Regions from separate parts of the Homo sapiens genome. Here all the other regions are linked to region 2. The links are contacts of gene promoters, found by promoter capture Hi-C in blood cells and fetal thymus (Javierre and others, 2016). All regions are on one chromosome and are shown on one strand. The core of a region is centred on a gene start or on the middle of the fragment in contact, and the rest is flanking DNA. Distances in the headings are between cores, read along the strand shown.

Region 1 (4,551 bases), core at 405-2,904, 760 kb after region 2:
AATGAGGGGAGACCCCGGGTGGACTTTAAAACCAGCCTCAGAACTGCCCGGGAGGCGGGCAGAGCCTGGGCTCCCCCAGCTCCGTCAGTCTCTCTGGACTTGGGGACCCTGCCAGCTCTCGGTGGCCTGATCTTGGGCATAGGAGACCTTGAACCCCTTCTGAGTCCTCTTTTCTATTCTTTTTTTTTTTTTTTCTCCTGTAAGAAGCAAAAAAGCAATAGGACTTTGATTTGGGGATTAAATAAGTTTGCGTGGAGCAGGCTTGGCGTGCTGCCTGGCGCATGTAAACACTCGGTGTGTGGTTGCCATCACGATTCGCTTTTCCTCTCTGTGCCACCACGAGTCCTCATTTGCAGATCGGGGGCTCTAACGCCTCCCTTGGGGGATTCAAAGGGATCCCTAGGAAAAGCAGAGAGGCAAGTAAAGGTTAGCCACCTGCGGTTTCCTTATTCCTGTAGCTTTTTTTCTCTGCCTTTTTTCCACCTGGCTACTCTGGGACCTCTCCCCTGTAGTTGCTCCGCCTGGCCGCCCACCCCCCAGCCCCTGCAGGCAGTGGGGCTGTTGACACATCCCACCATCCTGACTCCGGAACTACGGAGATCACAGGGCTTTATTATTAATTGGTGATGAGAAGAAGTAGGGATTTTTTTTTTTTTTTTTTTCCTGATGAGAAACCCTGGGCTCAAGGGTGGATAGTTGTCTCGGCCAGAGTCACATGGGCCTTTTAAAAGCTCAAGCTTGTGTTTCTTTTCACTATGGATTCTCTTTACTCAGATAAGGCAGGAAGCCCACTGATCTACATATTTACCCAGAGAAAATGCAGAGAGTGGAGATTGGCGGCTGGTCAGGTGTGGTGCCCCGCCACCAGGGCCTCCCATCAGCTAAGCCAAATTAAGAGGCTTTATCCTTTTTTTCTCCCTGGACGGTCCATAGGCCTGAAAAGCTGCTGTGATCTTCCTGTCAAGCTGGTGACTGAGACTTCCCATCACTCGCTGTCATCTCTGAGAGCACAGATTTGTTCCTTCTTCCTTCTCCTTTTCATTTTCTTCAAGATGTGGTCCCAAAACACGAATACCGCCAGCCCATATCCCTGTCTGCCACTCACCCAAGCCAGTCTGGAGTTCCTGATCTCATTCTCTTCCCGTTTCTGTCATCCTGTTGGTGTCCCTTTCTTGGTTTATTTTTCCAGGAAGGGCAAAAGAACAAAAAGGGGAAACAGGACACCTGCCTAGGGCATTGCTTCTCTTCTCCTGGTGGTGTTTCAGAATTGCCTGTCCCCGGGAAAAGGGTGAGGGACTTGGTGATTGTACTTTTCCTTGATCCCAGGAAAGAACTTCAGTCCCTTTTCTGGCTTCTGAGAGGAGAGATTTTTGTTGCTGCTGGTAAAGATGAGATGTGGAACCCCCAGGCCCTATCTCAATTCAGACTTACCCACCTGGGAAACTTGGAGGCTTCCAAACCTCTGCAGATAAAACATAGTACATGAAATGATGTAAACAAAACTTGTGCTCATGGGACTGGAGAGTAAAGACTGGAAAAGTTATCAGTAAAACTTGACCTGAAGCTAAGTTTCTAGGGACGTCATCGTGATTGACGTGTTCGGTACTGATGGCTTAGTTGATGCCAGGCACTGTGCTGAGGATGGGCATAGTTGAAGTGAGTGACAGAGTCCTGGGGTGGGAGGCTGGGCGTGCCAAGAAATTCTTATAATTCAATATCCGATGAGGCACAATCACCTAGTGGTTGAGAATGAGGTACTGGAGTCGGTTGTGAATGTACATGATGGGGATCGGATGAGGTCATGCATGTCGTGACGGGTCTCGTGCGTAACACATAGTAGGATCCCAGTCAGCGAGCATTAGTATTCTGTCCACACAGTACTGAGTACAGGCACGGCGTGGAGGGAGTCCCTGGAGGGTTAAAGAGTATTTTGTGAGTAAAGTCAGGGGAAATGGAGAGTGTGCCTTTCCCTTTTTGAGTTCTTCTGGGCTTAGGAAGGAGATGAACCAGATAAGCCTACTGTTTGTTGAGTGCTTCCTTTTCATGGCTAGTAGAGTCCTCACAACAGCCTTCCAGGGTAAGTACTGTATTATTATTAGCCGCATGTTCCAGAGGAAGAAGCAAAAACTGAGCACCTAAGTAAACCTGCCTGGGACCACCCAGCTAAGAACTGGTGGCGTCAGTCGGTCTCCAGTGTAGAGCGAGATAACAGATGAGTGGATGGGCCACAGGTCCTGGGTGGTGAGGGCGGCAGCAGCTTTTTGATCTTAAAAATACAGTTTCCTTGTCACCTGAGAGCTCTCTGAAAGCAGTGTGTGAGCTGACTTTTTGGATCAACTTTACTTTTCCCTTCTTTTTAGGCAATTGAAGATGAAGGTGGTAATCCTGACGAAATTGAAATTACCTCCGAGGGAAACAAGAAAACATCAAAGAGGTCTAGCAAAGGTATGGAGGATTTCATAAGCAAGTTTCATGTTAAGTGCTTTCTTCAAAACGAATACATTGCTAATGTGCCTCGTTTACTTGTCTGTGTGTTGGACTTGTGAACCACTCTGAACTGGGAGCCTTCAGCGAAGCTTTGCATTTTCTTTCAAGATCTCTCTACTGTGTTTTGTTTTCTTGGTATCTGGGAATTCCAATGGAGGATGGAAGGAGTATTTGTCCTTTATTCATTTTCCTCTGTAGATTGTCAGCGGTCCTTAAATAAGGAGTCTTTTGGGAGTCAGTCACAGTGGCGTGTGCCTGTAATTCCAGGCGACTCGGGGCTGTGGTAGGAGGATCACATGAGCCTGGGAGTTCAAGACCAGCCTGGGCAACATAGCAAAACCCAGCTCTACAAAAAAACTTTTAAAGGCCCGGTGTGGTGGCATGCATCTGTGGTCCCAGCTGCTTGGGAGGCTGAACCGGAAGGATTACTTGACCCCAGGAGGTTGAGATCAGCTTGGGCAACATAGGGAGACCCCCATCCCCACCAAAAAGAAATTAGCCAGGCATGATGGCATGCACCTGTGATCCCAGCTACTTGGGAGTTTTAGGAGGGGGATCACTTGAGCCCAGGAGCTCAAGCCTGCAATGACCTAATGATTGCACCACTGCACTCCAGCCTGGGTGACAGAGCAAGACCCAGTCTCTCTTAAAAAAAAGGGGGGTGGGGGCGGGGCACAGTGTCTCTCACCTGTAATCCCAACACTTTGGGAACCCAAGGCAGGAGAATGGTTTCAGTCTAGGAGTTTGAGACCAGCCTGGGCTGCCTCTATCCACTGCCAAAAAAAAAAAGTACCTAGGCGTCGAGGCACGCCTGTTTTCCTAGCTACTTGGGAGGCTAAGGCGGGAGGATCATTTGAACCCAGGAGTTCAGGGTTGCACTGAGCTATCATGGCACCACTGAACTCCAACATGGAGTCCAAAAAGTAGGACTGCCTGAGCCTCCTATTGCTTGGACTTGGAGAAAATAACATCCCTTATAAACAGCACTTGGCAAAAACAGAATTGTCACTTTAACATTTCTTTTAAAAGCAGCTTATACAGTAAAAGTCACATTCCACATGACATGACTCTCACCATCTTACCGAAATCTCTCTTGCCCATCCCCCACACCCTGTGCTTTAGTCAGGCCCCAAACACGTGATTTACTCTCCTGGTTCTCTGTGACTTCGCTCCGCCCACCCTTCCCCATCTGTCTGCCTTAGAGACCTAGTTCCTCAAAAGACAACTGATCCATCCCACCAATAGCAACTCGTCTCCTTGGGTCCTCTGTCCTCCCGTGGCATAGTTCCTTACCCCTTGGTTTAATATTTATGTCATCTTGCCTTCTGTCAAGAGCAGATTGATGAGGACTAGGGCTGTGTCTTGTTTATCTTTCTTTCCCCTTCAATGGTTTAACTTGGTAACACTCAACTATTGGCTTAAGAAAGAATCAGCTGAGGCAGGGCGCCGTGGCTCACACCTGTAATGCCAGCACTTTGGGAGGTTGAGGCGGACTGGTCACCTGAGGTCAGGAGTTCGAGACCAGCCTGGCCAACATGATGAAACCCCGTCTCTACTAAAAATATAAAAATTAGCCAGGTGTGGTGGCGGGCTCCTGTAATCCCAGCTACTCAGGAGGCTGAGGCAGGAGAATTGCCTGAACCCAGGAGGTGGAGGTTGCACTGAGCCCAGATCGCACCACTGCACTCCAGCCTGGGCGACCGCAAGACTCCATCCCCCTAAAAAAAAGAATCAGCTGAAGCTGGGCTTGTAGACCGAATGTTCTCTTGGTTCATGTAGAGTTTTCCCTATCTGAAATGCTTGGGACCAGAAGGGTTTCATTTTTTGGATTTTGTGCGGTATTTTCGTACGCATAATGAGATAATCTTGGGATTGGGGCCCAAATCTAAACAAGAAATTTGTTTCTTATACACCTGAAGATAATTTAATACCATATTTTTTATAATTTTGTGCATGAAACAAAACTTTCACTAATTCCACACATCAGGTGTGGAATTTTCTACTTGTGGCAATATGTCAGTGCTCAGAAGGTTTCAGTTTCAGATAGGGTTGCCCAACCTGTAA
Region 2 (4,307 bases), core at 279-2,778:
TCCAGAGTATCTGGGAATACAGGTGCCCGCCACCACGTCCGGCTAATTTTTATATTTTTAGTAGAGGTGGGGTTTCACCATGTTGGCCAGGCTGTTCTCCAACTCCTGACCTCAAATGATCCGCCCACCTCAGCCTCCCAAAGTGCTGGGATTATAGGCGTGAGTCATCCTGCCCAGCCCAGAATGGGTTCTAATCCCAGCTTGGCAACTCACTAGGAATAGGAGTTTGGGAAGGCAGCATCCCCTAGGAGTCTTGCTTGCCACATCTGTGAAATGTGTATAAGTGTTTCACAAGAGCCTGGAGTCCCTGTGGACTGGAGGAGACGCTGCTCCGGGGAAGCTCAGATCCGTGCCCGGCACATAGTAAGTGCTCCATAAACTATCTCACCGCACTCTGGCTTCCACGGACAAAGGGGTAAAGCCAGCCAGGAACCAGCTTCCTGCTAGGTACAAAAGTCCCCCAACTGGGAAGTCAGGTGAGAAGACATACCTACCTCCCAGTGATCATTGCCTAAATCTGTGCTTCTCCTCACCTCCTTTGGAGCCTGAGCTCACCTGGGCAGGGGGCCAGGTAGGCAGGCATCAAACTCCTGGCCTCGACCGATTCTCAAGTCCCACTTAGGACTCAGGCAGCTTCCTCCCGTCCCCTCTGTCCACCATGACTTCCTGGAACTGGTTTAAGCAAGGGTGGCCATGGCAGATGTCAACACCCTATGAAACCCCTGGGGGTCAGTGACCTGCCTTGCCGCTGGCTCCAGAAGGGGAGCTCCAGGCCAGACCCAGCCATCCAGCAACTTCAGAGCATGCTAAGACTGGACTTCCAAAATTCCAAGGGCCCCAGGTCCCACTGCCAGGCCTAGCCGGGACAAGAACCCCAAAGCAGTTAACGGATAGGCCTTCCTACTTTTAAGCCACCTCGTCGCCACGCCCACCCGAGGGAAGTGGGCAGGCTTTGCCCAAGACCTCCCCAGAATCAGTTGGGGGCGCCAGGAGCTGGGGCAACCCCCACCCCCACCCGTGGCAAAACCATCTGTAGGGGAGGGGGCTTTGCGGTGGCGGGGGGTGTCTCTGAAAACCCCAGAAGGGAGGGCGGAGATTCTGCCCGCAGGAGGAAACTTGCCTGCAAATGGCGTTTCCAAAAGCAAACTGTTCAAAATTTAGAGAAAACCTGGTGGGCGGGGGGCGGTATTTAGCCCACCCCCTTCAATATCACCCCTTCTACGGGGCTCTTTCGCCCCTCAAAAGTCCCAGGAAGTGAGAAGAGGGTTTCAAAGTCTGAGCTTCGTTGCAGAAGTTGGATTTTTCTGGGGGGAGGGGTGACCAGCCTGGGCTGAAGACCCCTCCCCAGGCCGCAGAGTCCAGCAAATCCCACCCCGAGAAAGGCCCTCCCCGACCCCTCCGGCCCCTGGGGTGCCCCAGGACTCCATGGACACCGCCCCCCAGCTCAACTGAGACGCCCCCGCCACTCACCGCGGTCAACCGGACGTCCCAGGAACAGCTGCCGCGACTTCAAAACCAGCTTGGAAACCGTCCGGGCCGAGGCGGGGGTGGCTTTTACTGCGTGGTAGGTTGGGGGCGCACTGGAGTGACGGGCGAGGGGACCAATCAGGTTGAGGGATTGCCCGCGCCAGGCCCGCCCCTCTCCTCCCTGCCCCGCCTCCACTAGGCCCCGCCCCTCGCCAAGTCATGAAGTCCGGGAAGGACTCCACGCCCTGCCCCTGAAGGGGAGGGAGCACTCTTGGACCACGCCTGTCCCAGCCACGGGACCCCCGCTCCGCAGCTGGGGACCCTGTGAAGTTGGCCCTGGGAGGTGAGTGCGATCGGGGGCGCCGCACAGGTGCTGGGATTCCCCAGGTCGCCCATTTCCCCTATGGCCAAACTGAGGCTGCGAGAACCCTGGGAGAGTTGCAGGGTGACCCTCGCCAGCGCGTCAGGGGCCACGCCCTCCACCATGGGCTCCGACTCAGCTATATGTACACACACACACACACACACACACACACACTTTTTTTTTTTTTTTGAGACACAGTCTCGCTCTGTCGCTAAGGCTGGAGTGCAGTGACGCGACCTTGGCTCACTGCAGCCTCCACCTCCTGGATTCAAGCGATTCTCCTGCCTCAGCCTCCTGAGTAGCTGGGATTACAGACACGTGCCACCACGCCCGGCTAATTTTTTGTATTTTTAGCAGAGACGGGGTTTCACCATGTTGGTCTTGAACTCCTGACCTCAAGTGATCTGCCCGCTTGGGCCTCCCAAATTGCTGGGATCACAGGTATGAGCCACCGCACCCGGCCCAACCCAGCTATATGAGTGACTTGAACCACCACGGGAACTTGTCCAGCCTCCGGCCTGATCTGCCCAACATCAGACCACTTCATCCTCCCAGCACTGTATTGTCTTTTTAATCATCCCTATTTTGCAGAGAAGGAAACTGAGGCCTGGAGAGGGTCAGCCAGGGGCAATGGAGGGGTCAGGCTCCAGGCTCTGTGACTGCTGGATCAACCTTTTCCTGAAGCTGCCCCCACTTGGATTTTACCCCGCCCCTCTCCACCTCCCAAATTATTTATCCTCTTGGTCTATAAACCAAGGTCTCAATCTCAGATGGTCCAGGGAGGAGGTGAATATTTCTGCTGAGGAGGTGGCAGTGATGCCCTGCTTAGAGGGGCAGGGGAGAGCAGTGCCCTATGGGAGACCCACCTGGAGAGTCACAGATCCACAGGAAGTTCAAGCTGTAGACATGTCCTGCCTGTTAGGGAACAATTGGACCAAATGAAACCCAACTGGGGCTTTGTCCAGCCCAGGGGCCACCAGTTTGCCACCTCTGCCAAATTATTTGAATAGAATGAAGCTTCTGGTAGCTTTAGAAAGAACATGGGAAAAATTGGGTGTCTGTGACTGCATTTTTTTGGGGGGGTGAGTGGGGACAGGGTCTATGCTAGCACTGTCCAATAGAACTTTCTGCAATTCTAGAATTGTGTGCCATCCAACATTGTAGCCAAAAGCACCACGTGGCTAATGCACAGTGAGAAGCTGAATGTTTAAATTTTTTTTTTTTTTTTGAGGCAGAGTCTCGCTCTGTCTCCCAGGCTGGAGTGCAATGGCGCGATCTCGACTCACTACAACCTCCACCTCCCGGGTTCAAGCGGTTCTCCTGCCTCAGCCTCCCAAGTAGCTGGGATTACAGGCGCGCGCCACCACACCCAGCTAATTTTTGTATTTTTAGTAGAGACGAGGACTAACCATATTGGCCAGGCTGGTCTCGAACTCCTGGCCTCAAGTGATCCACCTGCCTCGGCCTCCTAAAGTGCTGGGATTACAGGTGTGAGCTACCGCGCTTGGCCTGAATGTTTAAATTTAAGTAACTTCAGGCAGCTAGTGAGATTCTCAAGTGAATCTGAGACCCCATTCCATGACATTTGTAACAGGCTTTTTCCTTCTCATTCACTCATTCAACCATATTTATTGAGTCCTTGCGCTGGGGACAGCGGTGAGCTAAACAGATAAGAATTCCAGCCCTGGTGACACACACTACCCAGTGGGAGAGACGAACAAGGAACAACATAAGTGAGAGAACTTTACAATGTGTCACGTGGTAGGACAGCAAAGGACGAGATGAATGTGGGGGATGCGGGGATTTTGTTCTTGTTTTTTGTCAAAGAGTCTCACTCTGTCACCCAGGCTGGAGTGCAGTGGCACGATCTCGGCTCACTGCAACCTCCGCCTCCCAGGTTCAAGAAATTCTTGTTCCTCGACCTCCCAAGTGGCTGGGATTACAGGCCTGTGCCACCATGCCTGGCCAATTTTTGTATTTTTTTTTTTTTTAGTAGAGACGGGGCTTCACCATGTTGGCCAGGCTGGTCTCGAACTCCTGACCTCATGTGATCCACCAGCCCTGGCCTCTCAAGGTGCTGGGTTATAGGCATGAGCCACCACACCCGGTGGGGCCGCAGTTTTTAGTAGGGAGGTCAGAGGAGGCCTTTCTGAGTGACATCCAAGAAGAGAAGAGAGAGAGGCCAGGAGGGAACCATGTCCAGTTAGGGGGAACAGCATTCCAGGCAGCAGGCACAGTCCGTGCAAAGGCCCTGAGGCAGGACCACACCCTGCCTGTTAGAACAGTGAGGAGGCCCCAGTGGCTGGAGTACAGTGAGTGAGAGAGAGGGAGGAGGGGAGGGCTGGGATGGCTCAGAGAGGGGAAGTGACTCATCCAAGATTCAAGGTCAGTGGGAGATTTGCCTGTTAACCCTTAACTTCTTAGTGGCCTTGAGTAACAAAATAGCTCTGGTCTAGGGGATGAGCCCTGGTGATTT
Region 3 (4,608 bases), core at 760-3,259, 710 kb after region 2:
AGCCTGGATTTCATCTTGACTTGCTTGGCAGGGGGCCTTGGCCAAGTGGGTTTCCTTCCTGCTCTGTGCACTGTTTCCCCAGCAATGGGGACCTTTCCCGGACCACCTGTGAGATCCACCCTGCTGGGTTTCATTTCAGCTGAGTCTGTAAATATTTGGTCTGCTGTGGCCGGCAGCATACACGCAGGGGAAGCTTCAGTGCCTTTTACGAGCTCCCCGCGAGGCCTGATATGCGTTTTCTGTGGCTGGGTACACGGGGCACCCCAGTAGTTTCACAGCTCGTTGGCACGAGGTGGCTATGATTCCAAGACTGGAAGAAGCCGAGAGACACCATCAGTGGCTTCCAGCACTTAACTCCACAGCGTGCAGCATTTGAGAGGCCAAAGAGGGGCCTCTTGTTTTAAAAACTGTAATGCAACATTATAGATTACAGCTGCAGTAGAAATCGAGCCCAGCGATTCCCCTTCCCTAAGTCTATGGGCCACACTTAATTTCTTAAAGGGCAGAGGGGAGGGATTTCTGTTGGGCAAGGAGTGGGAAGCCCTGGTTTAGACCTGTCTCTTGCTAAAAAAATTCAAAGAACCACAACCACTTGCTATGCACCTACTGTATGCCAGATATTGCATAAAGCACTTTTTTATTTTTTTGAGATGGAGTCTCATTCTGTCTCCCAGGCTGGAGTGCAGTGGTGCGATCTTGACTCACTGCAACCTCCGCCTCCCAGGTTCAAGCGATTCTCCTGCCTCAGCCTCCTTAGTAGCTGGGATTACAGGCATGCGCCACCATGCCCAGCTAATTTTCATATTTTTAGTAGAGATGGGGTTTCACCATGTTGGCCAGGCTGGTCTCGAACTCCTGACCTCAGGTGATCTGCCCACCTCACCCTCCCAAAGTGCGGGGACTACTGGCGTGAGCTACCGTGCCCGGCCAAAACCTGCTTTTTTTTTTTTTTTTTATGGAGTCTCGCTCTGTCACACAGGCTGGAGTGCAGTGGTGCGACCTCAGCTCACTGCACCCTCCATCTCTGTGTTCAGGCGATTCTCCTGTCTCAGTCTCCTGAGTAGCTGGGACTACAGGTGCCTACCACCACACCCGGCTAATTTTTGTGTTTTTAGTACAGACGGGGTTTCACCATGTTGGCCAGGCTGGTCTCAAACTCCTGAGCTCAGGTGATCCACCCGCCTCACCCTCCCAAAGTGCTGGGATTACAGGCATGAGCCACCGCGCCCGGCCAAAACCTGTATTTTAAAAGGCTGTGCACTGGGGAGATGCAGATGCCTGCCCCAACGATGCTTATGTGGTGGAGAGTGCCGACAATAAACAATGCTTTAGCGAGTGGTCAGAGCCACGAGGACAGGCAGGTGTGACAAGGCAGAGGGTGATGAGGCGCTGCTGATCCAGTGGTCAGAGGAGACCTCTTGCAGGGGGCAGAATTTGAAGGGGCTGGGCATGTGTGGCTGGTCTCCTCAGTCACAGCCAGTGCCACGCTGTTCTTTTTTGAGACAGCCCTGTCGCCCAGGCTGGAGTGCAGTGGTGTGATCACAGCTCACTGCAGCCTCTGCCTCCTGAGCCCAAGTGATCCTCCCTCCTCAGCCTCGTGGGTAGCTGGGACTACAGGTGTACACCAGCAGCCCAGCCAATTTTATTTTTTTGTACAGATGGGGTCTTGCTACATTACCCACACTGCTCTCAAACTCCTGGGCTCCAGTGATCCTCCCACCTCAGCCTCCCAAAGTGCTGGGATTACAGGCATGAGCCACCGGGCCCTGGTTCACAGACCACCCAGGAAGCTCTCCCAGGAGGGCAATGTCTCGGGTCCTCAGTACCTTATGCTCCACTGAACCCGGCAGCTGCTGTGTCAATATTTGCAGGTGGAGGCAAACACAGGGCAGCTGCATCTCACGAGGATTTGAGGAGTACGGAGAAGCGGCTCTTGGTGCTCCCGGGAGTAATTTAGGGGCAGTTTCTGGCCCAGTATTGCTGTCTCTGGAAGCACTGTAGGACATGTAGAGTTATCCTTGGGGTCAACTCTAAAGGCCAAGCGCATGTGCAAAATTATGTACACACTCACGTACGCAGCTTGCTCACTGGTGCCCCAAACACCTATCCCTTCACCACCGTGTGACCGCGGCACGGGGTGCCCTGACAACCGGGGAGGCTGAGGAGAAGGGACCTCGGGCTGCAGCCTCAGCTCCATGGCTCGCTACCTCTGGGCGGGTCTCAGCCTCCCTCGGGCTCAGAACCTTCTTCTGCGCTTGACTTTCCCAGGAATTGACTCCAGTTTCCCAGGGAGCTGCACTGGGCTATGTCTGGGTTTGGTGATGTTGTGTGGCGTCCGTAGGTGTCCTCATATAAATTGGTGGCTGGCCAGGGGGACTAGAGATGTCTAACTTGCTTGACTGGTAAGCACATCAGGTGCTTCCCAAAGTGGATTCTGTTGTACACCAGGGTGACGGACAAGGATGCCCACGTCCTAATCCCTGGGACCTATGAACACATTGGTCTCCAAGACAAAGGGACCTTGCAGATGTGATTAAGGTGAAGGAATTCGTGGCTGGGTGTGGTGGCTCATGCCTGTCATCCCAGCACTTTGGGAAGCCAAGGCAGGAGAATCACCCGAGGCCACGAGTTTGAGACCAGCTTGGCCAACATGGGGAAACCCCATCTCTACTAAAAATACAAAAACTAGCCAGGCATGGTGGCAGGTACCTGTAATCCCAGCTACTTGGGAGGCTGAAGCAGGAGAATCGCTTGAACCCGGGAAGCGGAGGTTGCAGTGAGCCAAGATTGTGCCACTGCACTCCAGCCTGGGCAACACGGCACGGCTTCATCTCAAAAAACAAAGAGAAAAGCTCTCCTAGTCCACCCAGCTGACCAAAGAAATGGCTGAAGGGCTGAGGTCTGAACCCACCCAGCAGTGAGAGCAGAATCCGAACCCTGATTTGTCACCATCGTATGACCAGGTAGGAACAGCCTCACCTCTCCCGTGGGTCACTGGGACTCAAGGAAGCCCTGCCCCTCAATCCGGCAAACCTGTTAAAAGGCACGGCATCCCCGTTAAACGTCGACTTTATGGTTGTTGGGTTTTTTTGGAATCAAAAGGCCCTGTTCTAACTTTGCCTTTGAAATTATGTGACTAGGAGTCATGCATGCAATTTGAGACTGGCAATCATCGTGGAGGCTTGGGAGTTCCTTGGGAATAAGAAAATCTAACCTAGGAGCTGTTTTGAAATGTAATGAAATCTTTATGAATACAAAATTTAGCAATTGGTGAAGTTGACACATTTTGTAGCTGTGGAGACATTTCGTAAGGTCTTAATTCTACTTTTTCTTTCTTTTTTTTTTTTTTTTGAGATGGAGTTTCGCTCTTTCACCCGGGACTAGAGTGAAGTGGCGCGATCTCGGCTCACTGCAACCTCCGCCCCCCAGGGTTCAAGAAGTCTCCTGCCTCAGCCTCTCGAGTAGCTGGGATTACAGGCACCCACCACCATGCCTGGCTAATATTTGTATTTTTAGTAGAAATGGGGGTTTCCCCATGTTGGCCAGGCTGGTCTCGAACTCCTGACCACAGGTGACCTACCCGCCTCAGCCTCCAGAAGTGCTGGGATTCGAGGCATGAGCCACCGCGCCAGGCCATAAGGTCTTAATTCTGATTCTGCTGTTTTCTTTCTGTATGGCTGGAGCTGGTCATTTCCTCACCGGGACCCCCTCCAGACCTCTGGCATTGCATTTCGCCAGGGCCCCTGTGAAACATGAGCACCCGAGGCTCTATTCCTGTAGGGCTCCCCAGGGCCTGCCAACATGTATTAAGCATTTACTGTATGCCAAGCTTTTTATGTGGATTAACTAATCTTTGTAAAGATCCCATATGGCAACTACAATGATTACTCCCTCCTTCCAGTTAAAGCAGCTAAAGCAGACAGTAATGACCTGCCCGTGGGCAGGCAGGTAGTGAGAAGGCTGGGTGCCAGGCAGTTGGCTCCTAAACTTGCTCTCAAGAAGCTCCCTGTTTCTGCCCCAGTGGCTCTCATTCCCGTGATGCCCCCACAGCTCCCCCTCCCCTTTAAAAATGTCTTTAAAACGATGGGAAATGATACATAACAAAATTCACCACCAAATGGTATACCAAGGCCAGGCATGGTGGCTCATGCCTGTAGACCTAGCAACTTGGGAGGCCAAGGTGGGAGGATGGCTTGAGCTCTGGAGTTCGAGGCTGCAGTGAGCTATGATCGCGCCACTGCATTCCAGCCTGGGAGACACAGCGAGACCCTGTCTCGTAAAAAAGGGGAATTGGAATCTTCATATAGTGCTAGTAGGAATGTATAATGGTACCACCACTGTGGAAAAGTCTGGCTATACTTCCAGAAATAAAACACAGGGAGTTACAAAGTCAGCATAGGACCCAGCAATCCCAGTCCCAGGTATATACACAGGAGAATGGAAAACAGGTGTTCAAACACATACATATCCATAAATGCTCACGGCAGCGTGATTCACACACAACTGCCCAAAGGGGGGAACCACCCACACGTCCATCAGCATCTCCTTTTCATAACACGTATTTTGTTCCACCCACCTTTTCTCTCTTGAAATAAAAGTTGAGTTAAT

Evidence for each region. Contacts are between HindIII fragments. The CHiCAGO score rates a contact against its expected background, and 5 or more counts as called.
Region 1: a fragment that was not itself captured here is called in contact with the fragment with the promoter of PLIN3 in region 2 in 4 of 17 cell types (M1 macrophages, naive B cells, M0 macrophages and 1 more); the score reaches 6.4 in M1 macrophages.
Region 3: a contact is called between a fragment that was not itself captured here and the fragment with the promoter of PLIN3 in region 2, in 1 of 17 cell types (naive B cells). The highest score is 6.1, in naive B cells.

The regions. Positions count from the first base shown.
Region 1 is chr19:5,624,045-5,628,595 of GRCh38, forward strand. It overlaps SAFB (scaffold attachment factor B), which reads left to right. Exons shown (of 21, transcript NM_001201338.2): 2 at 2,361-2,445. Among named protein-coding and RNA genes, the nearest start is that of SAFB, 3.2 kb to the left of the region's middle. RefSeq lists an enhancer at 1-201. The HindIII fragment of the contact is 1,839 bases long and covers 736-2,574 here.
Region 2 is chr19:4,866,139-4,870,445 of GRCh38, forward strand. PLIN3 (perilipin 3) reads right to left here and starts at 1,529. Exons shown (of 8, transcript NM_005817.5): 1 at 1,471-1,529. RefSeq lists enhancers at 497-846, 789-1,289, silencers at 1,507-1,686, 4,110-4,274, 4,151-4,230 and a cis regulatory region at 3,943-4,307. The HindIII fragment of the contact is 7,389 bases long and covers 1-2,846 here.
Region 3 is chr19:5,580,236-5,584,843 of GRCh38, forward strand. No RefSeq gene overlaps it. Among named protein-coding and RNA genes, the nearest start is that of TINCR, 15 kb to the left of the region's middle. The HindIII fragment of the contact is 3,636 bases long and covers 192-3,827 here.